Regions from separate parts of the Homo sapiens genome. Here all the other regions are linked to region 5. The links are contacts of gene promoters, found by promoter capture Hi-C in blood cells and fetal thymus (Javierre and others, 2016). All regions are on one chromosome and are shown on one strand. Each heading gives the region's core, a stretch centred on a gene start or on the middle of the fragment in contact. The rest is flanking DNA. Distances are from core to core; before and after follow the strand shown. Region 1 overlaps DOCK8 (dedicator of cytokinesis 8). Region 2 overlaps DOCK8 (dedicator of cytokinesis 8). Region 3 overlaps DOCK8 (dedicator of cytokinesis 8). Region 4 overlaps DOCK8 (dedicator of cytokinesis 8). Region 5 holds the start of DOCK8 (dedicator of cytokinesis 8).

Region 1 (2,700 bases), core at 196-2,695, 130 kb before region 5:
AGGTCAGGACTTACTAATGAAAGGAGGCAGAAACTGACAGGCTAGAATAAAATCCTTTGCGAAAAAATGACAACAGTGATCTCGGAGGATGCTGCAATACTTTTCAGTTTTTCCTGGTCTTGCACTTCAAGGGCAAAAAATACAATATGTGTCCTACTTTCATAAATCACGACTTCATATGTTTTGTAACGAAAAAGGTAGTCGTGTGTCTGAATCTAGAAAGTGAGTGAATTGTGTCCTCTAGTGGCTGAATATTATACTGGAACGGTAGCTTTGCTGTCATAACCTTAGGCAATTGGTTCCCTCCTGAATTTTTTCATTCTTACAAATAGGAGGATTGCTGAGTTTTGGAGCAAGGCATTAGGAATGTGGGGATTGTGTTCCTGATTTATTATCGAGACCAAGTTGCAACTAGCACCAGAAATTCACTTTGTCTTTGTCTCCGTTCCTTGGCTAATTCAAATGACTAGATTTTGCCTGGGCTGCCACTGCCCTTCCTAACTACATGGTTTGTTTATAAAAGCTTCTGTTCCATAAGCGACTGCTTGCTAAGCCTAGTAAAACCAAGTACTGGGCTTCCGCATCATCTGATACTTAGGACAGAGTTTTTTGTTTTTGTTTTTTGAAAGAGTCTCACTCTGTTGCCCAGGCTGGAGGGCAGTGGCATGATCACGGCTCACTGTAGCCTCGACCTTCCTGGCTCAAGCGATCCTCCCACCTCAGCCTCACAAGTAACTGGGACTGCAGGTGTGGACCCCCACCCCTGGCTAATTTTTTTGTTGTTGTTGTAGAGACAGGGTCTTGCTATGTTGCCTAGGCTGGTCTTGAACTCCTGGGCTCAATGGATCCTCCCGCCTCGGCCTCCCAAAGTGCTGGGATTGCAGGTGTGAGCCGCTGTGCCCGGTATGGAGCATTTGACAACTCCATATGGTACAGGAACTCATTAAGGGTTGGTGGAAGCTTCCCTTCCATGAGAAGGAGGGGGACGCTTTGATTTTGAACAAAAGAGAGTGTCAGACCACCAGTGCCCCATCCCAGACCACCTGAATGGGAGTCTTCAGGGTGGGGCTGGACACTTACTCTGATGCACAACCACCCTTCCTTCACCTAGCACTGAGAAGATCCACTCTGAATACAGAGCTAACTGGGCTTAAACTGGGAACCTATTTCCTTGGATGAAATTAAGTCCCTTTCAAGGATACTCCCCATGTCCTGCCCCTCTTCCTAACCACTTCGTTTGCAGTTATTTCTGGTTCATTTCTTTCCTTAGAAGTTCTAGTCACTAAATCATAACTCGCAGACATTCCTTCCGGTCAGGTCCTGCATGCATGCTACGCCATTCCTTTTCCCCCGCAGAAGAGAAGGTGGGTAGTACTCCTTAAGACTCCACTGCGATATGGGAGCACATCCCCGTTAGGCCAGATCAGACTTCTGGTCTGAGAACATTCAGCTGAATAGGAGGAGTCCTGAAAACAGCTAATTATCCATCAGAGAAATCATGTTCCAACTGATATGCTTGTTCTCAGCAAGCACCGTCCTCCACAGCAAGTCTGATAATTGGATAAACAAGACCTCAGAGGCTCTCGGGGGCTGAAGTGAGAGATGAAAACGTACTTTATGTGGCTCTTTTTACTGTAATCACCCATTAAAGGGACGGCAGGGAGCTTAACAGCTCATTACAACCTCATTGCCTGTGATCTCCGCACATACCCCTCTGGCGGCCGCAGGATAGGATGCCCTTGAAGACCTTGCTGGGCCTTGGCCTCAGCCCATGCTGTTTTCATTCTGCCCCCACCAGAAAGCAGCTGGTGTCTCTAGTACCAGCTGTTGGGTCACATGGAAAATAAGCCAGGAGTTGGTGCAAATGTGTTCCTAGGCAAACCACTAGCATTTTCTTAATCTGGACACAGAGCAAGGAACGCCAAGCTTGGATTCGGATAATCCTTTTCATCAGCTCAGTTTTTCCAGCTGTTCTGCTCTGCTTTCAGAATTGCTGTCCTTCTGCTTGTGATTTCTCAGAGTGTCCTGCCTGGCTCTGGTTCAGAGGACCCTGCTCTAGCTCCATGCCTCTAACCCACAGAGGCTGCACATGGCACTGCAGAGGGCCCGAGCCGCTGGTTTGGGAGCCCCTGGTCATTCCTGGGATGAGCACTTCTGGCTCTAGAAGTTGGTCTCTATCGTTAGAGCAAGGATTTATTTTATGAATGCCCAACCCTCACGGACCCACGGGGATACTTCTGGGAGCACTACCCAGTTCTACCAGAACTCATCTACAGCTGTTCCTTAAAGAAACTTGAATAAGGTAGAGACACGGGGCAGCACACACACATTACCGCAATTACTTTTGCACCAACCTAATACACTAGAATGCAACTCGAATGGTGCCCCACGCAGGACACCTGAAGGGGCAGGGCAAAGAAAAGAGGCAGTGAAGAGGTGGGAGGAAGGTGAGGCTGGGGACTGGAAGGCAATGCCAGCCTATCCCAAGCCAACTTTACCTGAGGCACTATGGCAGCTGCTCCTTTAAGACAGGTAAAGATAACTGGAGTTCAACTCAAGTAATATTCAGCTGAAACCCTCATCAATACCAAAATCCTAAAATGTGTGACTCTGGTTACCACTGGCACTCAAGGCCAGAAAACATCTGCTATTAGAACCAGGTAATAGTTCCCTCCACCCAGGGGGGCTCTGCAGTTTATG
Region 2 (2,700 bases), core at 72-2,571, 210 kb before region 5:
AGCAATCCTGGACCTACTCTAATGAATGACTTCTCAATGGAAACATGTAAGAACTCATTTTTCAGGGTAATTAAAAACTCATTATTACCTAGACAGCTTGGGAATTTGTGGAAATAATCACATAGAAGATAAAATTAGTATGGTACAAAGTTCACAAAGCTATATTTTTCTACAGCAGGGATGGCAAATTCATGGTACAAATGACTTTCCTTAACAAATTTAAGTCCAAAGAAGACATCATTTGTCAAATTTAGCACTCTTTTTACCTAGCCTAGTCATAATCATAGCTCCCATATCAGACAGTGACCATCATTCAACTGGAGTTGACCCATCAGAAAAAATTCTACTTACCACTACTGTTCTAGATACTAAACGATAAACCCAACATCCATATTATAAACTTGGTACATACTCACACAGATTTAACCAAGAGGGTCAGCTGGCCAAACACCTAACCCTCTCCAAGTAAGCCCTAAGTCAAAGAAGCCAGAAGAATGTTTGGTATCTCTGGAATTTATAAGGTAGACACTGTTGTAAATAGTAAACTTCTCAACTTCATTTTTTTAAAAAAGGTACTATGGGATCACATTTATGTCTTTCACAATTTTGCATAAAGAAGTCCTTATTCTAGTAAACATATTCATGGCCAACAAATCAGATTGGGTGTTTGTTTTCCTCACCTGGATAATGTTTTCCTGCATATCCAGGATGATTAAATGTGCTTCTGTAGCCAGATTGCCACTGATCAAGGCTTCTTGATCTAACTCGGCCTTTGTTCTAGGAAACAACAAGAGGTCAAATTAAAGCGCATGTCAAACCTGGCCAGGTTCCCATGATGGCAATCTATACACCAAGGTGTAAAGAAATCTCCAAAATAGTCAACCTTGAAATGAAAACAGAGCAACTGGCCCTGAGTAACTACAGTGCAGGTGCCTTCTGTGATTCATGTCTTGTCGAAACAACTGTCTAGGTAAGGTTTCCTGGTCATCCTCATCCCCACTATTATTAATAATGATGAGGACAATTATAAAAATAACACTATGGGTAGAGAAGCAGTTATTAGTTGCTACTAGCAATTAAGCTCCCCTCTCAGATTGTTGCCTAAAGCCTCAGGGCCATGGCTGTATTTCACGCATGAAAACCATTGCTAGATCTGAGTAAGGGGAAGCCCCTGCAACATGCGAGAGAGAGTGAGACTGGATGTGATGTGAACTTGGCAGTGATGCGGCTGGGTTAGGAAAGGGTGGAGCTTCAGAGCCAAGTCAGGGGAGAGTCAGCCTCTTAACTTCCCAAAGATCACCTTGAGGTTGCTCAGCCAAGTGCGTGGGGTCTTTCGTCCTTTTCCATTGGGAAACAAGACTGTATTCCTGTAGGGCAGGTGATCTAATATCCTGCCGGACATTACTGGTCATTGCCCACTAGGGAATGGGAAATTGCCTGGTGCTCGCTCCTCTATTAGGTTTCACTTTAAGGAATCAGAATGGTTTTTTTTGCTAGCCCATCCATTCTTATGAAATCTAAGTGAAGCTGTAAAGGGATATTTTGTATCATCATCCAAATCTAGTTGCAAGGAAAGGGAGGTATGAAGAATTGACTTTACCAAGATGCCTCAGTAGCCAAGATGTTACCATGGGGTTGGGGTATCATTATATCAGCTCATATGTCCTGGGCCAGGGTTACCACTTACCTGTTCTTGCGTCCCATTAACCTAATAATGGGGGCACTGCAGCTGCTTACATACCACTGAGGACTCAAAAAATAAGTACTTCTGTGTGTTTTACTTGTTTTCATGTTTAGGATAGGCTCTCTGGTCCCAAGCCACTTGACACTTTTTCTCATTTTCCAAGTGATAATATATGTGTAAAATAAATGAAATCTAAAAGTTTTTTTTTTTTTTTTTCCTTAGAGACAGGGTCTTGCTCTATCACCCAGGCTAGAGTGCAGTGGCACTATCATAGCTCACTGAAGCCTCGAACTCCTGGGCTCAAGTGATGCTCTGCCTTAGCCTCCTGAGTATCTGGGACCACAGGCATGAGCCATCAAATTTTTATATCGTGATAAAGTACACATAACATCAAATTTACCATTTTAACCTCATCATCCTTTTTTTTTTTTTTTTTTTTGAGACGGAGTCTCCCTCTGTCGCCCAGGCTGGAGTGCAGAGTGCAGTGGCGCAATCTTGGCTCACCGCAAGCTCCACTTCCCGGGTTCACGCCATTCTCCTGCTTCAGCCTCCCGAGTAGCTGGGACTACAGGCGCCCGCCACCGCGCCCGGCTACTTTTTTGTATTTTTAGTAGAGACGGGGTTTCGCCGCGTTAGCCAGGATGGTCTCGATCTCCTGACCTCGTGATCCACTTACCTCGGCCTCCCAAAGTGCTGGGATTACAGGTGTGAGCCACTGTGCCCGGCCCCTTATCATCCTTTTTAATTAATTGACTGCTAGTTTAGTTTTAAATTTAGAGCAATGCTGTCTAGTAGAAACAATGGGGGCCACATATGTCATTTTATATATTGTGGTAACCACATTAAAAAAGTAAAGAAAAAGTGAAATTATTTTTAATATATTTTGTTTATCCTAAAAGATAAAAAATACTGTCTCCATGTAAGCAATATAAAAATTACTAGTGAAATATTTTATTCTTTTATTCACAATAAGCCTTCAAAATCTGGTGCGTATTTTTCACTTATCTTGATTTATT
Region 3 (2,700 bases), core at 79-2,578, 230 kb before region 5:
GTTATACTTGTTATTTTAATGACCCAATCTAATTAGATAATGGAGAAACTGATGAACCATGGGTGTGGAAAGAAAAAGATTTCTTTCTATGAAAACCAAGCCAAATGGTTGGACAAGATATTATGAAAGTGAGTTGCTATAAAAATTCCTGTCATATTAGGTGTGCACAAGACTGCTGTCAAAGTCTCGGGGAGAAAAACATCATAAACATCCAGAAGGCTTCTGCTCTCAAATTGTTTAACAAGGATCTTTAAGCTCTCACTCTGCTTACACAAAGCAAAACTGAAAATCATGGACAAAGCACTACGGGTGTGGTTTATAAAAGAAAATGCTGAATTGTGATCAGCAAACCCACAGTCACAGAGAAGTCTGTGGCCCTGCATAAAAAGGACGACAAATAAGTGTATATATATGTGTTTTAAAGAATAATAAGTTGTTTATGGTGTGTAGAATTTTGAACAATTCTGTGGTTTGAGAGACCTTCTTGACCAGTCCTTTTATTAATAAAATGAGTATAATCTTGTACTGTACTTAGAGGTCTTTCCTGCTAATGCATAGATGAAGAAACTGAAGGTACGTAGCTTGTTTAAAATCACAGGAGGAAGCTAGGACTAGAAGCTAGTCAGTGAACTTGTCTACCTTACACGGCCCTTTCCCACAGCACACCACCGCCTCACTGGGGCTGCCCACGTGCAGGTCCCGTCTCCAATAATTAACAGCACGACTATGCTTGAATCACCTCTAAGCTTTGAAATATAGAAAAATTTTATATAAAATATTTAAAAGGTAAATATATCTGTTGTACAAGTTTATAATTGAAATATATATTAAATATTATAATTAAATACATAAACACACTTATACTAAAGATATAACTTTAAAATATTAAATATTTAATATACAATAGTGCTATAAAATATGTAGCTGCCTAAATGGGATTTTCTGGCACTATGAGAGTGAAAGGACAACCATATAATCATATTTCAAGTGCATCCCTCCTTGTTTTCAGTCCAATCCACTGTGAAAGAGGTTTGTGGGTCCTCCTGGGAGGCCACCCAGCCCACTCATCCAGTGGTGGCCAATCCCTTGGGTGCATTACCTCCTCCTTCTGGATGACGCTGATCCTGGTCTTGATGTAGGGGAAGGCGTGCATAGTGGTCAGGACTGTGTTCCTTCTGTACTGCTCATGCAGCTCTCCCCGAGGCCGCCCCTCCAGGGTGAACGGGGTGGTGTACATGAACCTCCGGAGGTTGAAATTCTTCTCAAAGTATGTGACCCTGTCTTTCATCTCATACTCATCAAAGTAGGGCTCCACAAAAGTGATCTGTATGTAGGCCTAAGGGGGAAAAGGCACGGAGGGAGAAGATGAGCTATTCTGCAAACGGCCATCCCTGACGCAATGGAGGGGCATGCAGGAACACGGCGTGCCGGCACCGCCCTGCCCAGTGCAGAAAAGCTACAGATGCAGGGGAGAATGTGGCCAGCAGAAGTTCCTCCTCTCCACCCCCAAGGACAGAAGGGGCTGCAAGGAGGGAGAGGGGAATGTGCCTGTGGGGAGAGTGAGGGCCACCGGCCGCACCTTCCTAGCAGAGCAAACTGATCCACAGTGGAAGCCTTGGTATGAGAGTTTGCAAACTGCTATTCCAAAGAGACAAACTTTCCTTTACAGAATGACAATGACTACCTCACAGTTATGAGGAAGCATGAATGGCCGAACTAAAGAAAACTAACAATATCAAGTGCTGGCAAGGATGGAGATCAGCTAGAGCTGTCATACACAGAGGGTGGGAATGCAAAATGCACAGCTACTTTGCAGAAGAAGCTGGCGGTCTCTTATGCAGTTAAACTGCACTACCATTGGACCCAGCAACCCCACTCCTATGTGTGTACAGGAGAGAAATGAAAGCTTATGTCCATACAAAAACCTGTACACAAATGTCTCCAGCAACTTTATTCATAACAAAGACTAGAAACAACCCAAATGTCACTCCAGTGGGGAATTAACAAGCAAATGGTGAGGTAGTCACACAACAGAATACTACTCAGCAACGGAAAGGAAGGAACTATTGCAACATGGACTACCAATGGGCACGGGAAGTATTTTGGAGTGGTGGATCTGTTCTATATCTTGGTTATGAAGGTAGTCACATGTGTTTGTCAAAACTCATAGAACTAAACACCAAAACTGAATTTTACTGCCTAGGCCTCATTTAAACACACACTCACATCACCTCCACCCTCAAACACAGAGCGAATAAGTACTCATTAAAGACGACAATCTCTTAGGAAAAAAAGTGACCATGAGTTCAGATGCTGGGACACTCACCCACTGAAAGGGATGAGTGGGGTCACTGACCTCAGACTGTAAATCACGACTTAGTATAATGAAATCTGGTTGTAACTCTGGGTTCAGACTCTCATTCCAAACTCTCACAACCTACCCTGGGAATTTTAAAAGAGGGGAAAAGGGCACCTTGGCTGAGGGAGGTCACATTTTACACAGCTTGTGCTATGTACAGATCACTGTGGGCACACGGCCAACTCCATCTCCCAGACATGTGTGTCTGAAGATTAGTTAAACTCTTACCACAGCCACTGCTTTCAAGCCGAGGCTAGGGAATGTGTCTTAAGTGAGAAAGCATTCTGAAAAATGTAGAAAAACAAACTCTTCAATTTGGCCAATTCTTCCCCTCTTCCATT
Region 4 (2,700 bases), core at 201-2,700, 190 kb before region 5:
AGGACAGAAAACCAAACACCGCATGTTCTCACTCATAGGTGGGAACATCACACACCGGGGACTGTCATGGGGTGGGGGGAGTGGGGAGGGACAGCATTAGGAGATATACCTAATGTAAATGACGAGTTAATGGGTGCAGCACACCAACATGGCGCATATATACATATGTAACAAACCTGCATGTTGTATACATGTACCCTAGAACTTAAAGTATGATAATAATAAAAAAAGAATCCAGATTTAAAAAATATATACATATATATACATTTTTTTCTTTCAAACAAAATAAGGCTACATCAGAATTCAACGTTATATAGAAAATATTAACCAAAATTTTAAATGACTCAGACTCTTGCACTGTGGCTAAAGTAAGATAATTGTAAATTGCATTTCAAAAGTTTTTCTTGTTCTTAGTCTGTGGTCCCGGCAATGGGTTGTGTTTTGAATTAGGCATTGCAATTTGCTGGCTTAACACAAAGATGATAGACAATTTCTAAATGCTTGAAAAACACTGTGGATTTAACGATGCATAGACACTTGTGGATATACCCAGGTGTCAGAGATCCAAGGGAAACCCAGTGGAAACTGGAGCTGTAGCTCCCTAGGGGTTCAGGTACTGAGATGCGTCCTTCTGGCCCTTGCCCCATGGATGTACAGGTGTTGGCAAGTCTACCAACTGTCTTGGAAGCAAAAGAAAAAAAAAAAGGAAGTGCTGATCAATAGGAAGTATTGTTGAAGCATGACATTTTTCTGAGGTTTTAGCTTACATGATGAAGTTGTGACAGTGTATCTAATGACTTTCCAGGAGAGTAACTGACAACCCAGCAATCAGGGATTACTGTGTTGCCAAAGGAGTTACACTGTTAATTACTCTTTTGGGGGAGAAAGGGTACTGTGTGTGTGCATGTGCACGCGCGTGTGTGCGTGTGTGTGTGTGTGTGTGTGTGTGTTTGAAGAATGTATCTACCTGATTAAACATAATTACATGATTATCTCTGAATATACTCTACCTTGTTGCTAGTAATATAACAGCAACAATTTTACAAGGAATCCAGAACAGAATGTCATGGCTGTTTCCAGCTAGAATGAAAATAGAAAATAGAAACTACGCTATTGTAAATACTAAAGATGTTTCTAGAAATCACTTAAAGTACTGCTATTAAAGGACAACTAAGAAAATGTATGTACATGTTTGTGCATGAAGGCAATTTTCTTTGTGTTCAAACTTTCTTCTCAGTATCTTACTTATTAGCATAAGTGTTCGGTGCACTTTTTGTTGCTGTGGAAATTTATGTTAGTTGTAGGGTAGAACATTCTACTGAGATAATTGGGAGAAATTTAGTTAGAGTTGAGAAGAGAAGATAGAATTGAAGCCATGGAAAGTGAAGTTCTCAAAGGATATACTCAGGCCAGTTTATCTGGAAGGAGGCAGAATTGAGAGCTAAAAGCATGAGATTCCCCACACTATCCTGCCAGGAGACGCAGACATAGAGTCACTTCAGCGGTGTCAGCCTGGGTACATAGCTTGGGACACATGTGACTGTTGCAGTTGCACGAACTCGATGTGCTCCTGTATTTGTTTCATGCAGGAACCTCCTGTTTCCTTCACTAAATTGTAAGCACTTTGAGAGAACTTGAGAAATTCCATTTAGATAAAAATCCATCCATAACATACAGCAATGCTACCATTAATTAGCAAACATTATTCTGGAAACCTCTTTAGCATAGGAGTCATGGGAACAGGTTCCCTGTGCAGGGAGATGGTTTGGTATAGGAGAGTGGGTCCTGGGAAGGGACTGGGAAGACCATGGCTTTAGATTTCGTTCTCTGTTATGGAATAGTGGGCAAGTTCCTGCAATTCTGTATGCCTAATCTAAACACCAGAAGTGTTGAATCTCAACTACTTTGCAATCCTAATCATCTTTGAATCTGAGTCCCTGGATGGTGAGCTCTTGAGGGGCAGCGAATTTTGTCTGTTTTGTGCACTGATATATCTCTGATGTACTCTAACACCTAACTGTGTCTGTCCCATGGAAGGCATTCAATAATTGTTGAACGGAATGAATAATATTTTAGAAGGCATTATCTTTTTCAGTCCAATCAGATAGGCTGTGGGTTTCTGACTCCATGAGCTCACGGAGCATAGGGAGAGAAGGAAAGAAGGGGGTGGTCTACCTCTCTGTCTGTTGACTTCTAGGCTAGATACTGCCACATGTCCCTGAGTAATCAGATAGATAAGAGGTAAAAGGATTCAGAAGCCCTGGATGTGTGGTGTCTCTTGGCCTGAGAAGCACTGTCTGCAAGAAACCTAATCTGGGCATGGGACAGCTGCCTTCTCAGCAGCCATTATTTCCTTCATCAGCTTTGAACCAAGTGACATCTTGTGGTTGCCTCTGCATGCTATCCCCTTTGTTAAAAATGGCTTTGCTCCTAGGGAGTTCACTAATCAAAGCATCCTTGGGAAACCTGCTATAGCAGAACTGGTAAATTCCACTGAAATAGTTGACCAAGAAAAGTCATTTTGTAGTTCTTACCCATCCCTGGTGCCTTTCTACACAAGAAAGGCCTTTCTTGTGCCTTGTGCTTATGGGTACCATATTCTCAAGACAGATGTTTCTACTCCTCAGAACTGGTCAACTACAGTAGAGTTTTTTACCAAGTGTGAGAAGCTAGACTGCAAATTTTATTAAAGAACATCTG
Region 5 (2,700 bases), core at 1-2,500:
GGAAATAAAATCGTCAATAAAGCTCGATATGCCCTCTAGAAGACCTTATCGCCTTGTTTTTCTAGGCTTTTAATTCCTTGTTCAAACCTCTTCACACACTAACAGCACAAAGATGAACCTACGGTGGAATCCACCTTTCACAGGCTCAGCTAAGTGAAGATTAACAAATCGGACAGCCCTGTGGGCAATAGAATAAGTTGACACTTTAGAATGAGTTTCCTATTATCTTTTAACTAGACAGTCTAGCTTTCTCAGGGCAAGACAAAAATGTCCCAATTACTTGTCAGCAGTTTTTAGTGGAGGAAAAACTGCAGTTAAAGCACCTTTACTGAGAACTTTGAGCAGTAAATGTGCTTACATATTTAGTTTGTGCAACTTTGATTAGGAATTGGATGGTGAGTTGGGATCCCCCAGTCCTTAGCTTTTTGCTGGAGTTCTGTAAATCTCAAAATGTCAGCCACAGGCCATTTCTTTTGGTTTATTTAAGTGTAGATTTTTTAAAAAATCACTTTTTCCACTTCATGGCTCCTTTGGACCAGGGTATAAAAATAGCGATGCCACCAGGAGCCAAGCTCTTTCTGGAATAATGAAGCAGGCGAGGACGGAGCCTTGCTCAGGACGACAGAAGGCTTGCAGCCTGCCTCAAACGCAACTCTAATTTCAGCCACTTCACTTCTTCCCCCCGCGCTCAGACTTGCCTCAAAGGAAGGAGCCGTTTATGAGACACTCCGTGGCGCGCCCAACACGGTTACCCAGGCGCCTATCACCCTTCTGGGACCCGGCCACCTGTAAGAACCTGGAGGGCGGAGCGGGCGAGGTTGTTCGGGGAAGGGATCCCCGGCGGCTGAGGACATCCAGGAGCACCGAGATTCTTGGGGAGGACCTCGCCGGGCCCAGCGCAGGAGCCGCCGCGCGTCCAGCGGCTCCACCGCCGCAGCCTCGGGAACCGGGCGCCCCAGGTCTCAGGCGCGCCCCGCCGCGGACGCGAATGGACTCGTCCGGCCTCGGCCCCTGCAGCGAAGCTCCGCTTCACACCAGCGCTGGGCTGTCCGGCCGCAACCTGCGCGCCGCGGGGGGCGTCTTACCTGTTGATCTTGAGCGCGAACGCGCGGCGCTCTGCGCTCGGCAGAGTGGCCATGGCCCGCCGGCGGTTCGGTGGCTTCTAGGGTCGCGGGGTGCGGAAAGCGGGGGCCTGGCGCGCCGCAGAGTAGCCGCGGAACATGCCCAGCCAAGCGCAAACCTCGTCTGTCGGTCGGCGCTGGAAACTTCCGCATTTCCACCTTCTAAGCCGAAATCACCCCGGGGGAGGGTCCGAGCTCGGAGCAGCGACGGCCGGCTCCGCCACCCGGCCTGGCGCGCAGGCAGCGGCGGGCGAGGAGGGCGTGGGCCCAGCGCGGAACTGGCCTCCCGATACTGGGGCAGACGGCGCGCTCTGCCCGGGGCCGCCGACCTCCGGCCGAAGGGAGCGCGGGCGGACGACAGGCGACCACTGCGCGCAGGCCGGAAGCTCCATCTGCCCGAAGCTGCGAGGCTGCCAGGGAATGTAGGCAAGTCGGGGGAGCCCCACAAAGCTGGCGAGGTCGGGAATCACCCCAGGGATTCGTAAGGCTAGGTGTTATTAAGGGTTGACACCATTCTCGAAGAAGGCAGCCAAAAAAAAAGACAAAAAAGTTAGTGGAATCTATCAGGATTCAAATCAACTTTTGCAAGCAATATGCCCATCATCCTTCCTGAGACACTAAATAAATATAATGGATTCATCCAAGGAATAAACATTATGAGTTCTCAAAAAATGTTTTCGTCACAACCTGGCGTGAATGCTTTTCTCCGGAGAAACACTGAAGGCGGCGTTCTTGCGATTCAAGGGTACGCTGCGTCCAGGTTTATTTCAGTTTCAGACTGAGGTCTGCTAAGAAGCCCGGCCTCAAACTCAAGATAAAAACAGAAAAGTCCCAGTGTTGACGGGAGTGGAGGAGCCCGTGTTCGCTTCAAGGTGCCGGCGTGCTGCTCTAACCTGTGCTATATATACTCGAGCACTCTCCATATAATGCCTCCATTTACCAACTTGCTCTTAAAAAATACCAAAGCAGGCCGGGCGCGGTGGCTCACGCCTGTGATCCCAGCACTTTGGGAGGCCGAGGCGGGCGCATCACGAGGTCAGGAGATCGAGACCATCCTGGCCAACGTGGTGAAACCCCGTCTCTACTAAAATACAAAAAATTAGCCGGGCGTGGTGGCGCACGCCTTAGTCCCAGCTACTTGGGAGGCTGAGGCAGGGGAATCACTTGAACCCGGGAGGCGGAGCTTGCAGTGAACCGAGATCTGCCACTGCACTCCAGCCTGGCGACAGAGCAAGTCTCCGTCTAAAAGAAAAAAAAAAAAACAACCAAAGCGAAGTATTTTTGGTTCAAACCTGCACTATTTAATATGATAGCCACTAGCCACATGTGGCTATTGACCACTCGGCATTATGGTTAGTCTGAATTGCCCACTGCTGGATGTGTAAAATGTACACTGGAATTTAAAGACAGCGCAGAAAACATCGTGTAAAATGTCTTGTTAATGATTTTCATGTTGATTGCATGTTAAATGATACTTTGGATATAAAAAATATATTATTAAAGTTAATTTCACCTGTTTGTTTTCCCCTTTTAAAAATGTGGTTTGCATTTTTAAAAATGTAAAATTACACATGTGGCT

Evidence for each region. Contacts are between HindIII fragments. The CHiCAGO score rates a contact against its expected background, and 5 or more counts as called.
Region 1: a fragment that was not itself captured here is called in contact with the fragment with the promoter of DOCK8 in region 5 in 2 of 17 cell types (neutrophils and total CD8 T cells); the score reaches 14.3 in neutrophils.
Region 2: a contact is called between a fragment that was not itself captured here and the fragment with the promoter of DOCK8 in region 5, in 2 of 17 cell types (neutrophils and monocytes). The highest score is 12.6, in neutrophils.
Region 3: a fragment that was not itself captured here is called in contact with the fragment with the promoter of DOCK8 in region 5 in 2 of 17 cell types (neutrophils and monocytes); the score reaches 14.4 in neutrophils.
Region 4: a fragment that was not itself captured here is called in contact with the fragment with the promoter of DOCK8 in region 5 in 1 of 17 cell types (neutrophils); the score reaches 13.7 in neutrophils.

What each region holds. Positions count from the first base shown.
Region 1 is chr9:345,428-348,127 of GRCh38, reverse strand. All of the region lies in intron 14 of DOCK8 (dedicator of cytokinesis 8), which reads right to left. Among named protein-coding and RNA genes, the nearest start is that of DOCK8-AS2, 120 kb to the left of the region's middle. The HindIII fragment of the contact is 966 bases long and covers 963-1,928 here.
Region 2 is chr9:424,962-427,661 of GRCh38, reverse strand. DOCK8 (dedicator of cytokinesis 8) reads right to left here. Exons shown (of 48, transcript NM_203447.4): 34 at 681-777. Among named protein-coding and RNA genes, the nearest start is that of DOCK8-AS2, 44 kb to the left of the region's middle. The HindIII fragment of the contact is 3,245 bases long and covers 1-2,700 here.
Region 3 is chr9:445,006-447,705 of GRCh38, reverse strand. DOCK8 (dedicator of cytokinesis 8) reads right to left here. Exons shown (of 48, transcript NM_203447.4): 44 at 1,100-1,336. Among named protein-coding and RNA genes, the nearest start is that of DOCK8-AS2, 24 kb to the left of the region's middle. The HindIII fragment of the contact is 1,160 bases long and covers 749-1,908 here.
Region 4 is chr9:407,112-409,811 of GRCh38, reverse strand. All of the region lies in intron 28 of DOCK8 (dedicator of cytokinesis 8), which reads right to left. Among named protein-coding and RNA genes, the nearest start is that of DOCK8-AS2, 62 kb to the left of the region's middle. The HindIII fragment of the contact is 4,838 bases long and covers 1-2,700 here.
Region 5 is chr9:213,415-216,114 of GRCh38, reverse strand. DOCK8 (dedicator of cytokinesis 8) reads right to left here and starts at 1,250. Exons shown (of 48, transcript NM_203447.4): 1 at 1,086-1,250. The coding sequence starts at 1,138. It overlaps DOCK8-AS1 (DOCK8 antisense RNA 1), which reads left to right and starts at 365. Exons shown (of 1, transcript NR_160804.1): 1 at 365-2,658. RefSeq lists silencers at 776-915, 1,086-1,135, 1,186-1,235, 1,246-1,495. The HindIII fragment of the contact is 3,855 bases long and covers 1-2,700 here.